2 separate regions of the Homo sapiens genome follow, and region 1 is linked to region 2. Evidence: promoter capture Hi-C in human tissues and cell types (Jung and others, 2019). All regions are on one chromosome and are shown on one strand. The core of a region is centred on a gene start or on the middle of the fragment in contact, and the rest is flanking DNA. Distances in the headings are between cores, read along the strand shown. Region 1 has its middle 48 kb from the start of SYT6. Region 2 holds the start of SYT6 (synaptotagmin 6).

The links. Contacts are between HindIII fragments. The study calls those that stand out against the background at their distance.
Region 1: a contact is called between a fragment that was not itself captured here and the fragment with the promoter of SYT6 in region 2, in 1 of the 25 tissues and cell types used here (psoas muscle).

Annotation. Positions count from the first base shown.
Region 1 is chr1:114,198,634-114,204,284 of GRCh38, reverse strand. No RefSeq gene overlaps it. Among named protein-coding and RNA genes, the nearest start is that of SYT6, 48 kb to the right of the region's middle. The HindIII fragment of the contact is 5,144 bases long and covers 1-4,506 here.
Region 2 is chr1:114,152,619-114,158,289 of GRCh38, reverse strand. It overlaps SYT6 (synaptotagmin 6), which reads left to right and starts at 4,421. Exons shown (of 8, transcript NM_001253772.2): 1 at 4,421-4,680. The coding sequence starts at 4,518. RefSeq lists a silencer at 1,409-1,703 and an enhancer at 2,633-3,246. The HindIII fragment of the contact is 10,069 bases long and covers 1-5,671 here.

The DNA of each region.
Region 1 (5,651 bases), core at 685-3,184, 48 kb before region 2:
TCTGGGCTCAAGCAATCTGCCTGCCTCTGCCTCCCAAAGTGCTGGGATTATAGATGTGAGCCATTGCACCCGGCCAATTTACTTATTTTGTTTATTGTCTATCCCTCCCTCACCTCATCCCCTCCAGCAGGGATTTTTGACTGGTTTGATCACCACTGTGTTCCCAGTGCCTAGAATCATGCATCACAGAGTAGGTGCTCAAAAACATTTGTTCCCACATCGACTGCTGTGCCTGAGCAGGCAAGGTAGGAACAAAAGGAAAGATAGAGTTGGCTGAAGACTATATTATTCTGTTCGGCAGTTCTCTACTTACACAGAGAACAAAGAGCATCAATCAAAGTGAACCACAGTGTCTGGGAGGCAGCGAGAATTCCAGAACATAGGATATGAGCAGCAAGAAAGAAAGCGCAAGAGATGAGAGAATGAAAGGGAAGCCGGAAGAAGCAGTATCTGAGGGCAGGTGCTGGCACAATGAACAAAGCTGCCCTTTTGATGCATGTTGGGCTAGTGCATTTAGCCCCCTGGCTACCCTCACTGTGGCTGAATGTGATCAGTCCTTGGAGTTACTCCATGGGATAAGTGGTGTGTTTGTGGTATTATGGCAGCTCATGCATCTTTGAACTGGCTCCTGTGTTCTGTGGTATGTGCTGTATCATCTAAGCCCTCTTCCTCCCTATTTCACATGGAAAAATCAGCTCTTTCTCTCTGAGAAATAATGCAGGGGCAGAGAAGAAAAGAAAAGCGAAGCATCTTCCAATGGAGCTAGAGAGTAAAGCTTTAGATTCTTAATCTTTGGTCTTTGGGGTTTGTTGTTGTTGTTGTTTGAGACAGTTTCACTCTGTTGCCCAGGCTGGAGTGCAGTGGCATGATCTCAACTCACTGCAACCTCTGCCTCCTGGGTTCAAGTGATCCTCACACCTTAGCTTCCCAAGTAGCTGGGACCACAGGCACTCAGCACCACACCTGGCTAGTTTTTTTTTTTAATTTTTTGTAGAGATAGGGTCTCACCATGTCGCCCAGGCTGGTCTTGAATTCCTGGACTCAAGCAATCCTTCTGCCTCAGCCTCCCAAAGTGCTGGGATTACAGGTGTGAGCCACCGTGCCTAGCCTCTCTTTGGTCTTTTTTTTTTAGAGGGAGTCTCGCTCTGTCACCCATGCTGGAGTGTTGTGGTACGATCTCGGCTCACTGCAACCTCCACCTCCTGGGTTCAAGCGATTCTCCTGCCTCAGCTTCCCAATGAGTTGGGATTACAGGTGCCCATCACCACGCCTGGCAAATTTTTGTATTTTAGGGGAGACAGGGTTTCACCATGTTGGTCAGTCTGGTCTTGAACTCCTGACCTCAAATGATCCATCTGCCTCCGTCTCCCAAAGTGCTGGGATTACAGGCGTGAACCATCACGCCTGGCCCTCTTTGGTCTTTTGATTGATCACTGTTGGCTTCCACTTTGGGGATGATCATGCTGACTTTTCCTCCATGAATGATCCTGGTAAACTTTTCTTTGAGCTCTTTAAAAACCAATTTCCCCATCCCACAGCATCTGTTTCAGGGAAGGCTGCTGCCAGCCTATGGAGTGTGTAAATTCAAAAAGGATACTCCTTGTGTGGACACAGCTTCACCAGCACATGGGTTGGTGGGAGCTGTTGCCTTTGTGCAAAGAAAAGGCATTCCTTCCTGCAGGACTGGAATTCAGCCCCACTTGCCTCCTTGGCTGGGCACCTTTGCACAGTGTATAAACTCGTGTCCTTACATAGTGGTCTTCTAGTCAAATTCTTTCTAGTCATCATCTGTAAACATAAAATACCTATAGAGTAAAGCTCTAAAACCTGCCAGGGCCAAAGGTGTATGTTGAATGGGGTTGTGCCAGAAGTTCTAGGATGTATTTCTAGATTTCCAAAGCGAGAAGATGAGATTCACTCCTGAAGTAATTCTTGCTACCAAAAGGAGCCAGTTTCCAGCCCAGCCCACCAGCAGAGGCAATTGAGCAGAGGCAAGCAGATGCTGATGATGGAGGAGATCAGCACATTCCAAGTAGAGAAAGGAGCCATTTTTGGGTTATAAGTAACTGACAGCAGGCATTTTGCAGAGCACTTTGGACGAGGCAACCTCCCTAGACAGCAATTGATGTGGCCTTTGTTATTTAAAAATCTGAACTTTGATAAATTACAGTTGTAGAGATTGAGAATTCTCTGCAATTAGTAACAAGATCCTTGATACAAAAAAAATCCATATGAACCCAGACCAATATGAGCCAAGAATTAGAAAGAATGGAAGATACAGGTCAGCTAGACTTGGGTAACATAAAATCAACACACCCATCAATTCTTTAGTTAGGAAGGCGTGGAGGTCAATATCAGAATTCAGCAGCAATTTTCCAAGTTAACAGTACAGTAGATTTTAGGCAGTCTTCATTACGTAATGTGAGACTCAGCCATTCTCAATTAACCTTTGTCTTATCTTTATTAAAGTCTAAATTAAAGAACAATTCTCAGTATTTTCATAAATGGAATCTGACTGGGAAAAGAGTCCCACCTAACTACTGCTGACAGGAACCCGGTGTCCAGAGTGGGCAGGGCAAATCTCACAGCCTCCCTTAGGGAATGCCGCCTCTGGCAGCCTTCTCCCAGGTCAGAAGGGCTGCACATTAAAGTGACACTATGCATGGCTGCTAGCCAGGCTAGCTTTCTTGTAGCAATCTGTGTGACAGAGTTTCCACCAAGTTGTCTTTTTGTGTACCTCATGGCATCAATAATCCAGCACATTCCTCCTTGTATCTTGCAGCTTGCCTTGGACAATCCCTGGGAGCCCCATTGCTGCTACTGAACCAGCTCCCCATGCAGGTTCATTTTTGCTTTGTCTCACCCCTCTAGTGCCCATGGCAGTTGGGGTGGGAGGAAGGCAAGGACTAATAACATTTAAGTAAAAGCTATTTTGATTCTAAGAAGGGAGAAGGCAGAACGAAATTGCAGCATTTTTTTTTTCTAGTGGTAAAATTTGTCTTCACTGCCTTGCCCATACTTCCTCTAGTCTGCCAGTAACAATCTCTTTTACTCTCATCTCCATGAACTTCCCTTTGACTACCCAAGACCCCTGGCTTTAGCCTGTTTATCTTCATAAGATTCCATGCCTCCAAATTATATCTCATCTTCCTTCCATTTTCTTATGGTAGGTGTGGGGAAAGCAATCTGATTAAACCCAAAACCCTCACCATTGAGATTGGTGAGATTTTGTTTGAATAAGCCATAAGCTCTCTGTCTCTGCCAGCAACATGAAGAGCTTTTGTGACTACTGTGGCACAATTTTTATACGCAGTACAATGTTGGCTATGAAATCTTTGCATTATTTTCTTTTTTGTGTATAATTGAAAATAAGCATTTTTTAAGACTGTAATTTCAGCTGCTGCTCACTCCCTCTTCTCTTCCTCTCCCCTCTTCCTACTTCTGCTGTTCCTTTTTTGAAAGAAATTACTCCATGTAGACTTTTCTTTTGCCATTTATTCTATGTGAGAGGGGTTTTGAGTGGGGCAGAGAGACAGGTGAAGTTTAAGAGAGCAGGCATTTGTCATTACACTGGGTATAGCCATGGGAGATTTTTTTTCTGGTGTGTCCAACCTGGAAAAAGGCTTGAGCATTATTGATTTAAGGGAGGGTTTCTGCCCACAAATACCTCCTCAGTACCACTTTAAATTCCACCAAGTAACTTTTGACTTCCGGACATTCCTAGAATTAGGTTCTGGGACTAATTACTGCCTCTGTGTTCCCTCCCTTTTTTTTCTTTCATCTTAAATGACAATAACTCAGCTCAAGTTTTCTGGTCCTTTCTTTTTTTTTTTCTTTCCTTTCTGTTTTTTTTCCATTTTTGAAATTTGTGGGAAAAAATGCATAACATAAAATTTCCAATCTTAACAATTTTCTGTTGTGCAGTGAATCTGTAGAGATTTTTCATCTTGCAAAACTGAAACTCTACAATCATGGAATGATGCTAATAATTCCTCTTTCCTCACCACCCTCGGTCCCACCCTCTAGCAACCACCATTCTACTTTCTGTTCCTAAGAGTTTGACTACTTGAAATACCTCATATAAGTTGAATCATATAGTATTTTTCTTTCTATAGCTGGATTATTTCACTTGGTATAATGTCCTCAAGGTTCATTCACACTGGAGCGTGTGTCAGAATTTCCTTCCTTTTCAAGGTTGAGTAGTATTTCCTTGTATACACATACCACATTTCTTTATTCTCCCATCGATGACATTTGGGTTGCTTCTACCTCTTGGCTATTGTAACTATGCTGCAGTGAATTTTGGTGTGCAATTAAAATATCCAGAAGGTAAAAAGAACTGAGGATAAAGCTCCACTTTGCCACAATGGAAAAAAAAAATCAGCTGCCTACTCTGTCACTCACTTAGGAATCTACTTGCTAGTATGAAAGTTATTTTGCATAAAATTATCTATTAACTCAAAAAGCTTTCAGCTCTATTTAAAGCTTCACTTTAAAGTTTGACTGTGTTTTTAGTCCTTCAGAAGCTTTTATTATCTGAAAGTATTCAGAAATGTCTCCATTCATTTGAGGTTTCTAGAATATCTTATTCTTGAACAAGGGTATCCTATAATTCACAACAATATGTGAGTGACTGTTGAACACGCTGCCTACCCAGCATTAGCTTTTAAAACCAGTGTATTTTTTACTTGGTGGAATTGGAAGTAGGTATTGAGGAGGTATTTGTGAACAGAAGTCTTCCCTTAAATCAATAATACTCAGCCCTTTTTCCATGTGGGAACACAAGAAAGAAAATCTTCCATGGCTATGCCCAGGGTAATGACAAATGCCTGCTTGCTTTAACTTTACCTCTCTCTCCCACTCAAAAAAGTATAAAAAAGAATACAAGTGAACACAGTGTGTGTTGTTATAGGGATAGCCTTGAATTTTCTCTTGCTTATTTTTATAAAAAGATAAATCATTTGCAAACTCCAGTATTTTAACTATTAACAAAACAAGTTACTTGCAACACACCTCACAAATTATTCACCATGCCATTGTGAGCACACTGTGGTTGAGAACATTTGTCTTAAATGGTGGCATTCAGCCTATTCCACATACCTGTGTATCTAGCCTTGGAAGAGGCAATGAGAGGCGTGATTATGGTTCCCTAGCTCCTTCCTTCCAACTAGGGAGAGGCAGAAGAAGAGAAACAGAGCAGATCGGCAAGCTCCTTTGAGGAGCCAGGGGTCTCGAATGCATTGTTAGGCTGCCTGCAACTTCAGTTATTTTGAGAACCGTAAATGACAAGCCCAAGTATTCAAAGTTGGAGTCATGGGGCTCTTGAGGATGCTGAGACAGTTGAGCTAGCAGAGTGCTGTGGTTAAAACACGCACTTTTGTGTTGGACAAATGTGGCTTCAAGTCCAAGCTCTGTGATTTCCTAGTTTTGTAAACCTTGGTGAGTTATATAACCAGTCTGATCCTCCATTTTCTCATCTGTATAATGGGCTTGAAGACATTCTATTTGAGGAAATCTGATGTTTCATCTAGTGGAATCCCTTCTCTACAACTTTTCCTGTAGGTAACCCATTCCATGGGGTTCAAATGGAGCTGACATCCACTTTATTCTCCCAGTGACAAGGGCGGCATGTGACCCAGGTACATCCAATC
Region 2 (5,671 bases), core at 3,172-5,671:
CTCTAAAGTTGTTTGAAGGATGATACTGCCTTCTGACCTTCAACCTGTCTCTGCTTCCCCGAACTCCAGCCTGCTTTTGTCCACAAAGCCAGGCTGGATGCAGAAAACATTGTCCAGTCTTCCCAAGTCTGATGTGGAATATTGTGTGCTTGAGCAGAGAGCACAGAACAGAGATGAGACTGCTGAAATAGGGGAGGAATGGGAGAGAGGCAAATATACCCTGGTTCAGGATGTTTGAACTGCCAAGCATATTTCTTGGAATAAAAGCAAGAATGGACGCTTTCAAAAAGCACCTAGGCATTGACCTTGAGCTCTGCAACGTCTTCTGCATCTTCTCAGGTAAGGAGGAATCCCTGAAAACTCTGATGATGGCTTGGGACAGCATGATTTGCAGAAGTCACCCAGCTTTGGCTAGATTTGCTATCTTGGTATGGGGGCTGGGGGAGAGAGTGTCATCTGCAGGAAATACTGATAAAGCTGTTCTGGCTGAAACCCCATAGGGAATCCATAGTACAGTTTATTCCAAATAATGATATGAAGTTATACCCTCAAATACAGGACCTCAACTTGATTCTGCAGTAGACTAGGTTCAACTGATGTTTGTTTTTTTGAGTAAATTAACACTTCTGCAGAAGGCGGCTACATGCCTCAGTAAGCAGAGGATGGGGGAGGTGGGGAGAAGAGACCAGGGGCCCTCAGGGTTGGGTCAGAGCCTCCTTAGCTTCTATCCACGTGGCAAAGCTGTAGGTGTGCTTGTGTGTCTATTCCTCTGTGTCTCTCCCTGCACGTCAGACAATCCAGCTACAATCGTCAGACTGCTCCCTTTACATTTCTGCTGGGGACTTGGAGGGAGGAGGGAATGGGGAAAGGGCTCCCTATTTAGAAATTGCATTGAGATGGAAAGACAATATGACACATCGGCTCATGTCAAAGGAGCTCATTCTTCCCGCCTACAGCATTAGCAATTTCCTACCAAGGTTCAATTTTTTTAAAGAAATTATTATTTGGTTTTAATTTATTTTATTTGCAACATAACTCAACAAGACATTGCTGCTCAGAGCAGAGTGGGAGCCTGCCCAAGGGCAGAGACTTAAGTTGGGGGCAGGAGATGAGCACATTGGCTATTTCCGAAGAGAGGAGGGCATAGGAGTGGGAGGCCTCTTGTTTCTGTCTCAAACCTCCTCTCATTCTGCCTCCCATTCCACCCCAGCTCCTCTTCCTGCATCTGAGAAGTCTGGTCTGGAGGTGCCCAGACTCGGGATGCTCCATGCATGGCTGTAGGCGCAATGAGAACGATGGGGGAGGGGGAGCTGAAAGTGAGTTGGCCTCTGTAAAACCACCCTCAGCTTCAGAGCCAGGAAAGGCTGCCTCCCTCCTCCCTTTGCCCCAGCCTCCTCTTTTCTCCCTCATGTAAAATCCTAGAGTGCTGTTGCTGGAAGGAGCCTCAAAGAGCTCCTAATCCAACTTCACATAGGCACACTGAGCCCCAGATAGGGGATGTGACAGCCTCGTGGCTGCTTTGGTGCACCAGCCCTGAATCCCAGCCCTCCCAGGCCCTGTCCAATGTACTTATTTGCCACCACTCCATGCTTAACTGTCTCTGCTCCTGCTTCTCTCCTCCCCACCCCTAAACCCAAACTCAGAATGGGATTTCTCTGAGAGATAGAATTGAAGGGCAACAATTCCACTTCTTTCCACCTCTTTCCCTCTCTGGGTTTGAGTGGGACCCTGGATCCTCCCTCCCAGCTCTTGGTGGGACCCTGGGACTCTGAATTTTATCTCTTCATATGGGAAGAAGCAAAGGTGTGTTTGGGGGTTGGGTTTGCAGGGCAAAGGGGTTTGAGAGACAAAAAAGTTTCCATCATTACATGAAGAATTTTTCTGCTTTGTGGCTGGTTATGTGACCACAGTGGTATCAGCAATTGACCTGGGGGCTGGGGGAGGTAGCGGGCTAAAGAGGACAACTAGGGTGAGGCTTTACCTTAATGTCTCCTTCTGAATGTGTGTTTCTTTACCTGTACATCTGTCTCCCTGTCTGTTTCTCTGTTCTCTATTTCCTATAACTGTCTCTCTGTATCTCTGTCTCATCCTCTGTCTCTCTCATTTGTATCTGTCTCTTGCCTCTATTTCTGTCTCTGTTTCTTTCTCTCTGTCTCTCTCATCTCTGTCTCTCCCACACACGCTAACTCCTACAATCCAACTTCAATAGCTATTGACTGACCCAGGGGCCCTAACCTGTTTCTGCAGCCCTATCAGGGCAGCAGCTCCTTCACACTGCTAGATTGAGAAATGCCAGGTCCGGAGCTGCTGCCGGGGCGCCAGAGACGCTGCAGAAGCGCCTGCCGAGTGTGGAGGCTGAATCCAGGAACAATGAGAAATTATCTGTTAATTCTCGGCTCCTGCCACCTGCTCTGCTCCAAACAAGCTCCTTTGCCTTCAGTTTAGATGCAAATTCCCCCACTCGATGTAAGCAAAATATTGATTTCCCTGCATCACAGGTCTGGGCCCTTGGAATGGTCCTGTGTTTTTTCATTCTCTGCAAAGGCAAAACAAGGTGCTTTGTTCTGTGAATTTCCCCCAGGAACTCGCGAGGGGGAGGGAGAAATAGCAGGGGAGTGACAGAGTTGCCATAAACACGGGCAAAGAGCAGTTCTCCATTTGTATTTTACATAAACACAAACCTGCCACTTGGGAAACTGCTAATAAGCGTTTAGCCAGAGGCTCTTCTGGGTGCTGAGATCTGCATCGGGTGATGGAAAAGAAATTAATGGGGCCTCTAGGCTCCTCAGGTGGGTTTTCAGAAGCACCAGGAAGGCGCATAGGGATGCCAGAGCCCCACTTGTTCTTGGAACAGCAACCAAACACCTCCAGCAGGAAGGCAGCCCGGATTGCACAGTATCGCCTGCGTCGTGTCTGCTTGGTCCCTGCCTGAGTTCCTAGCCTTCTGCTATCACAGGCACAGGGGTCAGGGTGGAAGCTGCGAACCTTCAACAATTGCCTCTCCCTCGTCCCCTAAACTTATGCCCACGCGATGGTAGCACCAACTGGGTCTTCAGCACCGTGGACAGAGCCAGGGGGCGCCTCACGGTGGAAAAGCCGCCTGGCTGGGCCAGGGTCCTCACAGGCCTTGCCTTAGCCCTTGGTGCCCCAGGCACCAGCTGCTAGGGGATCGCAAGTCCAAGGGCCGGTTGGCACAGATGGCGCGCAGTGGAGACCGCCAGGAGCTAAGGCTCCGAATCTCCTCCCTCCGGAACGTGAGTCACTGCCCGAGTCACTTCCAATAAGCGTGTTAATTAAGAGGCAAGACCTTTCTCCCTCGCCAGCCACTCGGGCATACACCAACCCAGCAGCCTCCAGGGGCTGCAGCTAAAGCTTCCTTCCCAGCTCCGGGAGAGCAAATGGACCTGAGTCTGGGGCTTCAGGCGAGCCCCACACAGAAGGGGCCCCACCGCCGACAGGTGTAGATCAAGAGACTCCCGAGATAGGCCCCTGCAGGGCGCTGGTCCCCCGGCCTCCCTGACCATGGCTCACAGACTTCCAGCGCTGAGTGAGGCAGCTCGAAGCCTCTCAGCCGATCTGTTCCTGGGCCTCACTCCACAGTTTCTGAGGGGATCTCTACTTTAAGTCTAGCCTCAATCCTCCCGTTGAGCTTTCTGTCTTTCTTGTTATGCTTAGCAGAAAGATACATGATCTCTGGTGCTGTTTCACCGAAGCAAGGAGGTGGGTCGGCGGAACTGAGCGCCCTGCGCCCTCTTGAAATGACCCCCCATTCCTGTTTGCCAGAAACTTTTCCCTCCCGTTGCCATGGAGAGAGACGGCCGCTGCCTCCCGTCGCCATAGCAACATGCGGGTACCGCGGACCGCAGGATTGCGGAGCTCGGAAAGTCTTGCAGTTCGCATCGCCCGCCTGTCTTGGGGTCTTCTACCTCCGAAGCTGGGACTCGGGGGCCAGTCTAACTGCTCCCGTCAGGAACCTCGGCCAAGGTCCTCCCAGACCCTGCCTGACCGTCGCTCTTTCTGTTACGGGGTTATCTATTTCTCTGTCATTCGTGTGGCATGTGGCAGTTTACCCAGTGTTTTCACAAACACGATCTTTCTATCCCCAGGGAGTCCGTGAAGTACTTAAAATCATTACACCTCCTTTACGGAGAGGAAAATTGAGGCTCAGAGACGCCCAAGGTCACACCAGGCAGTGAATGCGGAGTGGGAACCCGGACTCTTTCCTGGCCTTGCACCCTCCGAGATTCGGGACAGCCCGGCTTCCCGCCTCGAAACCCCCACCCCCCGGACTCAGGCCAGTCCCTGAGTGTAGAGGGGGCGGCCGCGAGGCGCCAGACTCGCCAGCTGCCGCGGGATGCCACGTGAGGGGCGGGGACCCTGCGGGGAAGTGATTAAAAGCAGAGCGGAGCCGCAGGGGGCCGCTGCAGGGAGGGTCTTCTTGGGGCCGTCGTGCCCCGCCCCAGTGCGGCCGGGGCGCGGGTTCGAGCTGCTGCTCGGCAAGCCTGGGTGTCTAGGGCATGAGCGGAGTGTGGGGGGCCGGCGGGCCTCGGTGCCAGGAGGCGCTCGCGGTCCTCGCCTCGCTGTGCCGGGCCCGGCCGCCCCCTCTCGGGCTGGACGTGGAGACTTGTCGGAGCTTCGAGCTGCAGCCCCCAGAGCGGAGTCCCAGCGCGGCAGGCGCAGGTAACGGGAGACCCAGGGCCCCCTCCCTTCCTGGATATCCGTCCTGCGATCTCCCTTCCCCAAAGCCCCGGTCCCAGGAGCCCCAGAACCTAGAGAGAACTCCCCAGCTCGGGATTCTGGATTGGGAGCCAGCCTCGTCCAGCCCTCTGGCCCATCGCTTGCACAGCCAGGAGAGACCCGAAGGGGAGCGGAGGTTGGGGTAGAAGCCCCCGGCCCTCCTGTATTACTACTGCGGAATGCGGGGGACCCCGCAGACAGCCAGGCTCCCAGGACGGGGCACCCTTGGGGCTTCAGTTTCCCTCGCATCTCCAAGCTCGCTCTGCGGGCGATTTGCCAGGAGAGGGGTCCATGGAGAGAGCGGGAGACGAGGGGCGCCCGGCTGAGGAATAGGGCTTGCCTCCTAGCGAGTGTCGAGGTCCCCGGGTCCGTGCGTCGGTCTGTCCGTCCGTTTGTGTGTTCTCGCGGTGAACGCGGGCGGACCCCCAGTCTCTCCGGGAGAAACTTGGGTCTGCGGCTGGCACGAGGTCTTTGTGTCCGGGTGTCTCTCCGGCTGCGAGTGGTTTTCCGCGTCTCCGCTGGGGGGCGGGGGACAGGGGGCGGGGTGGGGGAGGGTATGAGGGTGTTGCGGCGTCCTTCCCCCACCCCCTCTCGCCCCTATAACTCGCTCCCTCCGTCCCTCTCGGACTCGGACTCGGGGCCGGTGCGCGACTGAGCTGGCGCCTCTAGCCGACTTTGCCAAGAGGGCGCCTCCTGCCCGATCCGCGCTGACCCTGCGCGGGACGCAGCCCCAGGCGGCTGCCTAGCCGAGGCGGGAGCCCGAGCTGAGTCGAGCTCGCCGGAGCGGGTGAGTCCCGAGCCCGATCCCCGCCGGGCTGGACCCTGGCGCGCAGCTGCGGCGTCTCCGGGGAGTCGCGGCAGGGGGAATGGCGTGTCGCGCCCTGGCGGCGGGAGCTGCGGGAGGGTCGGCGACGTGGCGGCCGGCCCAGGGTAT